Linked DNA regions of Homo sapiens: region 2 is linked to region 1. Evidence: promoter capture Hi-C in human tissues and cell types (Jung and others, 2019). All regions are on one chromosome and are shown on one strand. Each heading gives the region's core, a stretch centred on a gene start or on the middle of the fragment in contact. The rest is flanking DNA. Distances are from core to core; before and after follow the strand shown. Region 1 holds the start of PCSK2 (proprotein convertase subtilisin/kexin type 2). Region 2 overlaps PCSK2 (proprotein convertase subtilisin/kexin type 2).

The links. Contacts are between HindIII fragments. The study calls those that stand out against the background at their distance.
Region 2: a fragment that was not itself captured here is called in contact with the fragment with the promoter of PCSK2 in region 1 in 2 of the 25 tissues and cell types used here (aorta and spleen).

Annotation. Positions count from the first base shown.
Region 1 is chr20:17,224,412-17,229,373 of GRCh38, forward strand. It overlaps PCSK2 (proprotein convertase subtilisin/kexin type 2), which reads left to right and starts at 2,629. Exons shown (of 12, transcript NM_002594.5): 1 at 2,629-3,071. The coding sequence starts at 2,895. The HindIII fragment of the contact is 16,215 bases long and covers 1-4,962 here.
Region 2 is chr20:17,285,765-17,291,375 of GRCh38, forward strand. All of the region lies in intron 2 of PCSK2 (proprotein convertase subtilisin/kexin type 2), which reads left to right. The region is part of intron 2 of LOC105372546 (a long non-coding RNA gene); the gene reads right to left. Among named protein-coding and RNA genes, the nearest start is that of PCSK2, 62 kb to the left of the region's middle. The HindIII fragment of the contact is 5,054 bases long and covers 1-3,778 here.

The DNA.
Region 1 (4,962 bases), core at 1,379-3,878:
AACTATTGATGATGCTTCCTACATTACAGCGTATGTTTTCACAACTCTTTTGAAATTATAGACTTTGGCTCTGAGGTATCTAATCCAACAGTCTCTTTTCACAGATAGAAAGATAGAGACTTTGAGAGGTGCAATATGTTGGCCCACAGCCAAGTGGTATACATACCTAGTACTAGCAGAGCCTGCAATAGGGTCCCTGGCAACAGGCTTCTAGGTCTATCCTCAAAATGTGCTGCTGCCATTCTCTCTACTGTCCACCTTGACTATTGTTATTGGAAAAAGGAGTTTGAGAAATAGTTGTCTAAAAGAGCAATTTGTGTGCACACATGGGTGTGTATTAGCATTTCAAATAACAATGTATCAATAGATATCCAAGGGATAAATACATTTCCTCTTCCACTTGCTTACTACATTGTTGTGTATTGAAAATTTAGTATTTGAATAACCAAAAAAATTATCTTTCCATTTGCTATTCTGTCCTGACAATATTATGATGAGCTGTATTTTATGTAAACCACTAAAGAGGACTTATTTTAATTAGTCATTCAGGTTTTATATCATTTCTGGCCAATTTTACACAGTTTTAGTTATTTAAAATGTAGCTATATGAGATTCAACATTTACCAGCATTTCATATTTGGAAACTATTTAAGAAATGAAGTGGCCAGGCGCAGTGGCTCACGCCTGTAATCCCAGCACTTTGGGAGGCCAAGGCGGGTGGATCACAAGGTCAGGAGATAGAGACCATACTGACTAACACGGTGAAACATGAAAACCTTGTGTTATAATCAAACGGATGGACTATGAGGGGGTAAGCTGTTAAACAATAGAGTAATAGAAAGGGGGAACAAAGGCAGAAATGAGCCTCTGAGCAGTAGTGAGCTGAGGGGCCCAGAGTTGATCTGTTTCCCTTTATTAATACTTTCACCGTGTTAATACTTTTCCAGAAACCTTGCCTCCACCATGGCCCTAAGTCCTAACAGATAGCTTAATTTTCTTAGAGGAATTCAAATAACAATAATAAATAATGTCACATAGACTTCTAATGTTTTAATAAAAACCTTCAGCAACGCCCACATTTTTACGTGACAATTTTTTAAAGGGCTATGAGGGAGCCAACTATGTCAGCAAACAGACATGCTCTGAAGACAGGGTGGTCCATGGCATTCAAAGTGTATTCATTTCTACCGATGGTGCTTTTCTTGCATAGGTTCTGACTTGTGTAGATTTGGACTTCAAGCTAAAATAAAAAGAGAGGAATATGTGTATACATGAGAATGTGTGTGTAACGTGTCGATGGTATAAATAGTCTCTTCCTCTCTCTCTGAATTGCATGCACTTAAGCCCCTAAGAAAAGATCTCTTACCTCTTATCTAAGTAAAGCAGAATTTTGAGCTTTGAAGCTAAATGATACAATGAGATCAGTGTAAATACTCTTTAACACAACAATATTTGAGTAGCTTTGAAACAGTCGTCCTCATTTCGTTACATACAGAACGTTCGTGCTTCCTCCCTCTCAGGCAAGAAGCGGAGTCCGTCGTCAGCAGTTAGCAGAGTCCAGTGCGAGTGCACGTTTCTTAACCGGATAACTTAGTTGCCCCTGCCCCCCGTCGCTGCGCCCGAATTCGCCTCCAGTAGAAGACGTTCAGCGGGCGACTTGGCCCGGCGCCTGGGATCGGTGGCTATGCGTTCCCCAACTAGCACCCTCGCTGTCCTTGTGCAGTGGAACGTCCCCAGGTCTGAGAATGCACCTCCCGCCGTGTCCACCCCGGCCGCGTCTCTCCTGAAGGCAGATCTTGGAGGTGCAGCCAGGACTCCTAGAGGAGCCTCCTCCAGTCACCATCGCGGGTGGGGCGAGCCGGGTCTCCTGCTGGGCTTCCCAGCCGCTTCGCTCCGGACCTGCCTGGAGCCTACAAAAAACAAGGGCTCGTCCTTGCACTCTCGCCCCCCATGGATCACCCCTAGAAGGTGCTTTCCCCAACCCTCCTGGTGCCAAGGAGAGCAAACCTCCCCGGGGATTTGCCCAAAGTGGTGGGAGGAGGGTTAATATTTGCTTTGTTATTCGGATAAGGGGAGGCAAGTATGCCTTGGGTGTGTGTGTGTGTGTTTGAGAGAGAGAGAAAGAGAGAGAGAGAGAGAGAGAGGTGTTTTTGCAGCGGGAAACAAGCAGGAAGAGGCACAGAGGCCGGCGCCCCTGCTCCCCTCGGGGCCTCTGAGAGCGGCACACACCGTAATTCCCTTCCCAGAGCCTACAGATTCCCACAAACAATGACATCACTCCGCCGCCGCTGGCCTGATTACAGCTGGGGGGATTTTCCTGGGCGCGCGGCGGGCCAGGCTGAGATGGGGGAGCTCTCCGGTGCTGAAAGGGGCGGGGGCGCGGGCTCGCTGCGCTGCGCTGCGCTGCGCTGCGCCCCCAGAAGGCGGAGGCGGCCGGGCCGGGCCGGGCCGGGGGTGGGCGGGGGCGGGCCCGGGGCGGCCCAGGGCGGGGCCCGCCGCTTCCCCCGCCCTCATTGGCCGCTGGCGGACTCACGTCACCCGAGCTGGTGCTCTCCCCCAGCCCCTAGGGAATTGGAGCTGAGGAGGAGCTGAAAATGCAGATTTAGCATCAAGCACAGACCTACACTCGCTCTTTCTCTCCGGTACACACAGCTCCCCACATTCGCACCCCTGCCCGCGCGCCGGGCCGCCTGACTGCACGGCTTCCCCTCCAGCCAGATGCTGGAGAACACACACTGATTCGCTGCTTTCCAAGACCCTGTTCAGTCTCTTTCTCTATACAAAGATTTTTTTAAAAACTATATATAAGAATTCTTTATTTGCACCCTCCCTCCGAGTCCCCTGCTCCGCCAGCCTGCGCGCCTCCTAGCACCACTTTTCACTCCCAAAGAAGGATGAAGGGTGGTTGTGTCTCCCAGTGGAAGGCGGCCGCCGGGTTCCTCTTCTGTGTCATGGTTTTTGCATCTGCTGAGCGACCGGTCTTCACGAATCATTTTCTTGTGGAGTTGCATAAAGGGGGAGAGGACAAAGCTCGCCAAGTTGCAGCAGAACACGGCTTTGGAGTCCGAAAGGTAAGCTCTCCCATGCATTTCGCATGTTGTTTCAAAACGGGGGGACGGGGGGGCAGCCCTGCGCAATCTCATTGCAGATTTGCAAGTTTTCTCTCTTTCTCATGCGATGCAGATATTCTGCCATGGGCTCTTTAACACGATATTGCCTCCGGTGATCTTTCACCGGTTATGTAATTAAAATGTCCTTCATCTGTACTAGTAAGGTCATCAAAATAATTTACTGCTCTTTGACTTGATGGCGAAAATAGGATAACACCTTTCACAGGATGCCATGCTCCGGGGATGCTGTCCGAGGTACCAAGTTCTCGAGGCTGCCTGGGGATGGAGGGATGAAGCCCTGAACAGCTAAGCCTGGCGTTGGCTACTTGGCCAGGGAAGTCTCCCCCACCCCCATCCCCCGGAGAAAGAATAGTTTCCTACAGACGAGGCTGGACGTTTGGACACTGCAATTCACCTCGGTGTTTCTCCCACCCCGCGCCGGGAGGACTTCCCTCCCAGGGACTTCGGTCCCTGCTCCTCTCCGGGAACAACGGCTTCCTGACTCTAGATTTGGAAAGAAACTGGTCTCTAAAATCGGGGCGGAACTTCTGCGCCCTCACCCCCGCCCACGACCGCCCACCCCTGGAGCGCACTTCTGGTTGGCTCCCTAGTTCTCAACTCCCGGCTACAGGAGCTGGAGAGGTGGATTTTGAGGGGGATTCCCTACGGAGAAGTCGAGGTGTCCTCTCCTGATGCGTGGGCGGCCAGCCTGGCTTTCCCACTAGAGCGTGGGGATCCCCATTCCAAGAAGTTGCCAGAGTTCGACAGTTTGAGCAGATAGGTGAGCCTCCCAGCTTTGGACACCTTGGATCTCCTTTGGAGACTCCAGGGTACTCATCCTGGGAGGACAGAGAGAAGGGCGCTGGGTGGGGGCTGTGGCTGACCTGCGTGTCTCTCCTGCAAAAGATGTATCAGGGTTCTCCAGTGTCCTTAGGGGACCTGGCGCAGGCTGGGGTGGAGTGTGGGTGCAGAGAGAAGGTGGGGCGAGGGGAACCCAAAGGACAGAGATGTGGCTACCAGAGGGCTGGGTGGAGGTCCCTGAGATTTTAGGCTCCATCTCGCTCCTGATCCCAGGAAGAGAGAGGAGTGAGATGAGCGGTGGGTGCTTTTGGTTATTGGTTTTGCCTTGAAGGGCCGCGCAGACCGAAGCTCTTATTAGTCTCTTCTGTCCTGACTTCCCAAGCCTCCCGCCTCTCTCCCAGCCACCGCCAGGGCTCCTCCAGGTGTGGGGGCCTCTCCCTCCTCCTAAGGGCGTAGGCAGTACCGGAATTTCGACCCCAGAAGGGTCTGGCGACGAGTTTGACAGAGGTCTGGGAAGAGGCTCTGGGTCCGCCGGTGGCGCGCGGGCGGGTCTTGCGGAAAGGAACTTGTTGCTCTGGAAAGCGTGGGTGGAGCAGGGGAAAGAAGGCGCCGGCGGAGGGAGCACCCCGCTGTGGTTTTGGCCCGTGGCCTGCCGGCTGTTTTGAGAGACACCAACACAATAAAGAAGCCGACCTTCCTTCTTCACTCCCCCCCACCCCAAACTTGGCAAGACCCAGGACCCAAACGCCATTATAAAATATAATAGTGATTATTATTAGTTATACGGAAGCTTACGTGCTGGAGTCCTTACATAGATTTTTACTTAATCTTCTCAACATCTCTGAGGAGGCTACTATCATTATTGAGCCTATGGCCCCGTTGAGGAAATTGGTTCAGAAAAGGGTGCGAGATAAAAACAGGCAAGGGCTTCAATCCAGATCTTTCAGAAGTGAACCCATGCTCTTTACTCCTTAGTACCCACCCAAGCAAGCTAGGTGCTTTCAGGGGATGTGGGGCATTGAGATAAGTTGAAAAGGGATTTTAATTCTTG
Region 2 (5,611 bases), core at 2-2,501, 60 kb after region 1:
GGAGTGGAATAGTGGAATTTTCCTTGCTCCAGATTTTAAGGACACACTCAACTTCATCCAGGCCCCAGCACATCACAGACCCACCTATGAGTCAGTACTAATGGCAGTACTAGTGGCCTCAAAGGACATTTGAAGAAAAATTGTTACTTACCAGACCCCACCAGAGCTGCTGAGATGATCCCATGTAACCCTAACTACAGAGTTACCTTTAGCTTTTTTCAGTTAAATTGTATTTTATGTGAGTTTTAATTGACACAAAATATAATTTTGAAAGCCTGCAAAAAAATGCATAAATGTAAGGCAGAAATGGCCAGGACATTCCTCCAAATAACTCTGCCTGGAAAACAAAATCTTGCTGTCATTACTGGATTGTTCTTGTTTTCTCCACATGAACAAGGTTTGGATAATGAAGTAACAGCTCTTCCTGGAGCCCCATTGCCAAAAACTAGCAATAAAGGAAGACCTTACTACCTAACACATGTGGCTACTTGAAAATTATCTGAAATAAAAACAAGCCAGAATCAACATAATAGTGTATAACAAAACCCAGATGTCTCTTGAATAAAAGGTTAATCAAATGCTAATGTTAAACGAAAGAGTTTCAAAGGCAGGAGGAAGAATGTTAGAGATAAATGAAGAAATTAGGTGCAGCCTCTGTATGACTTGGAAGAGCAAGCTCTCTGCACAGGATCGTTTTTTTGTTTTTTTTAGGAAATTAAGCTTTTCTTTCACACCTAGAATGTGTCAGATGCTTTATAAGAAAGGCACTAAATACTTTTCCAGGAGCTTAATCTTCAAAGTACAATCTACTAAGATGTACCTGGAGGAAGAAAAATGTAGCAATTCTTGCAAAGCAATGCTTTGGATATTACCTTTCTGCCATATTTTGGTAGACGTTTATATATAAATCCTGGTTTGGTCAGGAATCCAGTAAGAATTTGCAATGTTTGTAAAAGCCCACCTGCTTTGCTCATGAATTGCAGAACAGCTCATGCCTCCCTCCACAGCACCCTCTGCCCTGGTCTCCATCCCAGTGAAGGGGGTTGTGCTCACAGTCTGTATCAGAATCAGTCAGGGTTCTCCAGAAAAACAGAAGCAATAGGGTGTATACATACAGGTTGTATATGTAAAGAGAGATATTTATTTTAAGGAATTGGCTTATGCAATTGTGAAGGCTGGCAAGTCCAAAATCTGCAGGGCAGGCCAGCAGGCTGGAAATGCCAACAAGAATTTATGCTGCAGCTCGAGTCCATGGCAGTCTGGAGGCAGAATTCCCTCTTCCTTAAGCGGACCATAGTCTTTTCTCCTAAAACCATAAGATAAGACCCACCCATATTTTGAGGGCAATCTGCTTTACTCAGCTCTGCTCACTTAAATGTTAATCACATCTAAAAAAAAAAAATACCTTCACAGCAACATCTAAACTAGTGTTTGACCAAACATCTGAGCCTCGTGGCCTAGCCCAGTTGACACATAAAATTAGCCACACATCCAGTGGGCAAGACAGACAAAGTCACAATAGACATCGAAGGCTACTGGCGGGGACTGAGAGAAAGTGGGGAGTCTACAAGGGTGAAGGAGAGGAAAGCACCGTGAAAAATACTTGCAAATATTTATTCATGAGGTCGGGAGGCATTTCAGGGATCTTGCACCAGCATGTGCGTGTCTGTGTGTGTGTGTGTGTGTGTGTGTGTGTGTGTTAAAATGGGGAGGAAATAAGAGAATGATACAAATGAAGCTGAGGAAGTAAACAGGTCAAGGAGGGGAGGGTGGATTCTTTCTTGTCTGCTCAAGCATAGGAGCAAGTGGGGTCATGCAATTTTATTTTATAACTAGTGGCTAAGCATCCACTTATCTTATGGAAGAAGGTCCTCAATTCTCCAAGAACCCTGGTGCTTCAGAGTCAGCAGTGCCATTAGCAACCACAGGTGGCGCTGTCCTTTCTCAGGAGAGCACCAATCCTACAACTCCTTTGGTTAAGATTATAACCCTGGCCAGCCAGTATTCCCCCAAGCCACCCTAGTGGGAGGCCTGGGGAGCCTTCCTAAGCCCCTGGGCTTTGTGTCATACCTGGCCATAAGGCTTGCCTGCCTTCATGCTCCAGATAGCTTTACTCTGGTGGCCTCGTTGCCCTTGCCTAACACCTGACCTTGATGTACCCTCCCCCAGCTCACCCTGAAAGAGCAGCCTGACTGGGAATCTGGGGATGGGGTGTTTTTCCTTTCTGTCCCAGAACGCCCTGTCTTCCTCATGCAAGGTGATGAGCTCTCACCCAAGGGCTGGCTCTGCAGGCTGGATCACACAGCTGTACATGCCCTTCCCCACTTCCCATTCTAAATCCACCTGATCAAGCTGGACTCCTTCACCAGGCCCTTCCAGGAACGGACAACTCTGCTCTGAGGAGATCCCTTCTCATGGAGGATGACTCAGCATGTCCTTTCATGCAGCTTCCATCTAACCTCTACCTCAGCAGGTGTCTGCTACCCTAGGGCACATGAGGATGCTCCCAAAGCCAGCAGAAATCCAGGACAGCATTTCAAGAAGGGGAGAGGCCAGGGATTCTGCAACATGGTCTGTCACAGAGGAGGGTGGCTTCGATGGACAGCAATAGCAAGACCAGAGCAGGTGCAATTCCAAGGGTGCAAAGACAGCTCTGGATGCTGGAGAAAGTCAATGACAGTGAGTCCCTACTCACCTGCTCCACCACTAATGGCTGCAGCAATGCCACGGCTCATGTTCTGGGCTGAATTGTTTCCCCCCAGATTCATATGTTGAAGTCCTAACCCCCAGTACCTCAGAATTAGACTGTAATTGGAGATTGGGCCTTTAAAAGGATAACTCAAATGAAGTCACTAGGGTGAGTCTTAATCCAATATAATGGGTAAACACCCATGAGAAGGGCAAATTTGGACACAGACACACAGAAGAAAGACCACAAGAAGACGTAGGAGAGGAAGGCCATCTGCAACCCACAGACAGCAGTGTGAGAAGAAACCAACCCAGATGACACCTTGATCTTGAACTTCTAGTCTCCAGAATCGTGAGAAAATAAATTTCTGTTGTTTAAGCCCCCCAGTCTATGGTACTTTGTTACAGCAGCCCTAGCGAACAAATATACTGGCTTCAATCTAAATCAACTTGCAGTTAGCAATTTCAAAAGACTGCGTGAAGCTATCCCAAAAGGCTATCCGCAAAGGAAAGCTGCGTTCTTGTGCAGTACTATTAATAGATTATAGAAGGAAATAAGGATGACAGATGTTACTGGAAACCACCTTGTGCCTAGAAAGAAGCATTTCCTTTCTCTCAACCGAAGGACAGCAGCAAGGTCCCAGATGGTGCTGAATAAGCAAGTGATCAAATATCTTATCATTTTGGATATAAATCAATGCAGTGATATTACCTCTCAAACTTTGCTCAATCACTTAGCCTTGTTAGATTAGTCAATATCTAGGTTGAAGAGCAAAATGAGAATTGGAATTGGCCTTTTCAAAGTCAGATTTGTGTACCTAAAACAAGCCAAATTAGTTTTGCATTAAAAAAAATAACACAGCAAGTCACATATGCATATTTGAGGGTCACTATGAAGCTCCTTGTTTAACAACTAACACTGATTGTAATAATTGTGCCACTGTGGTTCTGAATGTCAATAATGGGAGAGGTTCTGTGGAGATGGGGTATATGGGAACCCTCTGTACTTTCCACTCATTTTTGCTGTAAACCTAAAACTATTCTAAAAAATATAGTTTATTAATTTTTAAAAACTGAAAATAGTAACTATTTAAAAATACTTTGACTATTCAAAAAACCAACACATCAATTAGTCTGTATCTATCAATATATATATTTTAGAGAGTATCACTTTAAAAATAAAAATTACCCATACCCAAAGCTAAACATCACTTAACTTTTTTTGTTTATATCTTTTCAGTGTTTTGTCTCTATTTTTTTTATTTTACAAAGCTGACTTTCTATTGTAAAATCAATGTTTGTTTTACTTTCCTTTATAATATAGCTTTTGAAAGCTGCAATGTTTTTCATTGTATGGTTATAGCATCATTTATTTAACAATTCCTCTATTTAGGAAAAATGGCCATTTCTAATTTTTTGTAGTAAATGAGATTCAAAAAACAGTGTCAAAATAAATTCTCTTTTGTACTCTTTAATGTACATCTGATTATTTGCAGAAGATAAATTTCTAGAAGTAGAATTGGTGCATTCATCAGTTTGCTCATTGTTTAGGTTTTTTAATACATCTCTGTCAAGAGGGTATTATTAGCATTTTTCCTCTGTCATCAATTTGGCAGGTCAGAGATGGCATCTTATTTTATTTTAATTTGCATGTACTTGATTTTTAGTGAAAGCAATTTTTTTCCACATATTTCTCAATCATTTATAGTTTTCTTTGGTGAGAAGACAGGTACCTTGAGTGTGTGGCTTACAGCATCTATCACAGATCACTGCCTGGCACACAGTAGGTCTTCAGTTAGTGACTGAATTAATGATTTACCCTGTGTTCTTGTCATCTTTTGGGAAGTGCTCCACTTTTCCCTAAGGATCTGTATGATCCCATTTTGTCATAAGAATATCAGCCCATTTTCTACCATTCATATGGAAAATGGTTTGTTCTCTTTTCTCATTTAAATTTCTAATAATCATATTTGTCCCTGCTAATTATCACCATGTGCCCAGCCTGGAATGTGTACTTTACATATTTTATCTTGCTTAATTCTTACCACCACCCTAGGAGGTGGATGTTATCATCCTGTTTACTAATGGAAATATTAAGACTACTCCTAGACGTTAAATAACTGGCCCTGGTCATACTCTCAAGAGACAGTAGCACCTAGTTCTGTCTGATATTCCATAAGCCTTCACCTACAGTGCTATATCGCTTCCTTTTAAATTATATTTATGTGGGATTTTTGAAGGAGGTAATTGTCTTTGTCTATTTTCTGCTGCTGTGGCAGAATACCAAAGACTATGTAATAAAGAAAACAAAGAAAAGAAGTTTATTTGGCCTACAGCTCTGGAGGCTTGGAAGTCCGAGAGCATGGTGCTGGCATCTGGTGAGGACCTTCTTGTGTTAACCCATGGTGGAAGGGCAAGCAAGCATGTGAGATAGCGAGAGGAAACGGGGACCAAACTATACTTTCCTGAGGAGCCCACCCCCACGGTACCTAAACCATGCCCTCAATAATGGCATTTATCTATTCATGAAGGCTCCACCCTCATGACCCAATCACCTCTTAAAGTTCCCACCTCTTAATATTGTTACAGTGGCAATTAAATTTCAACCTGAGTTTAGGAGGGGACACTCAAACCATAGCAATAATATATTCACCTGCATCAAAAATAATATATATAGGTGTGAAGTTTAAAAAAAAAAACTCCTTCCCTCATTTGCTCATTTTTACCCCTACTTACTTTAAATAACCACTATTACTAATGTTGCACATACAACCTTCTTGAGCCTCTTTTATGTATATACAAAATATGCATATATATTCTTCTCCCATCTTTTTACACAGATGGCAGCACACTATAAACACCATTGTGTACCTGCTGTTTAGACCTTTCTTATTAGTACATGAGCAGCTTCCTTGTTTTTGTT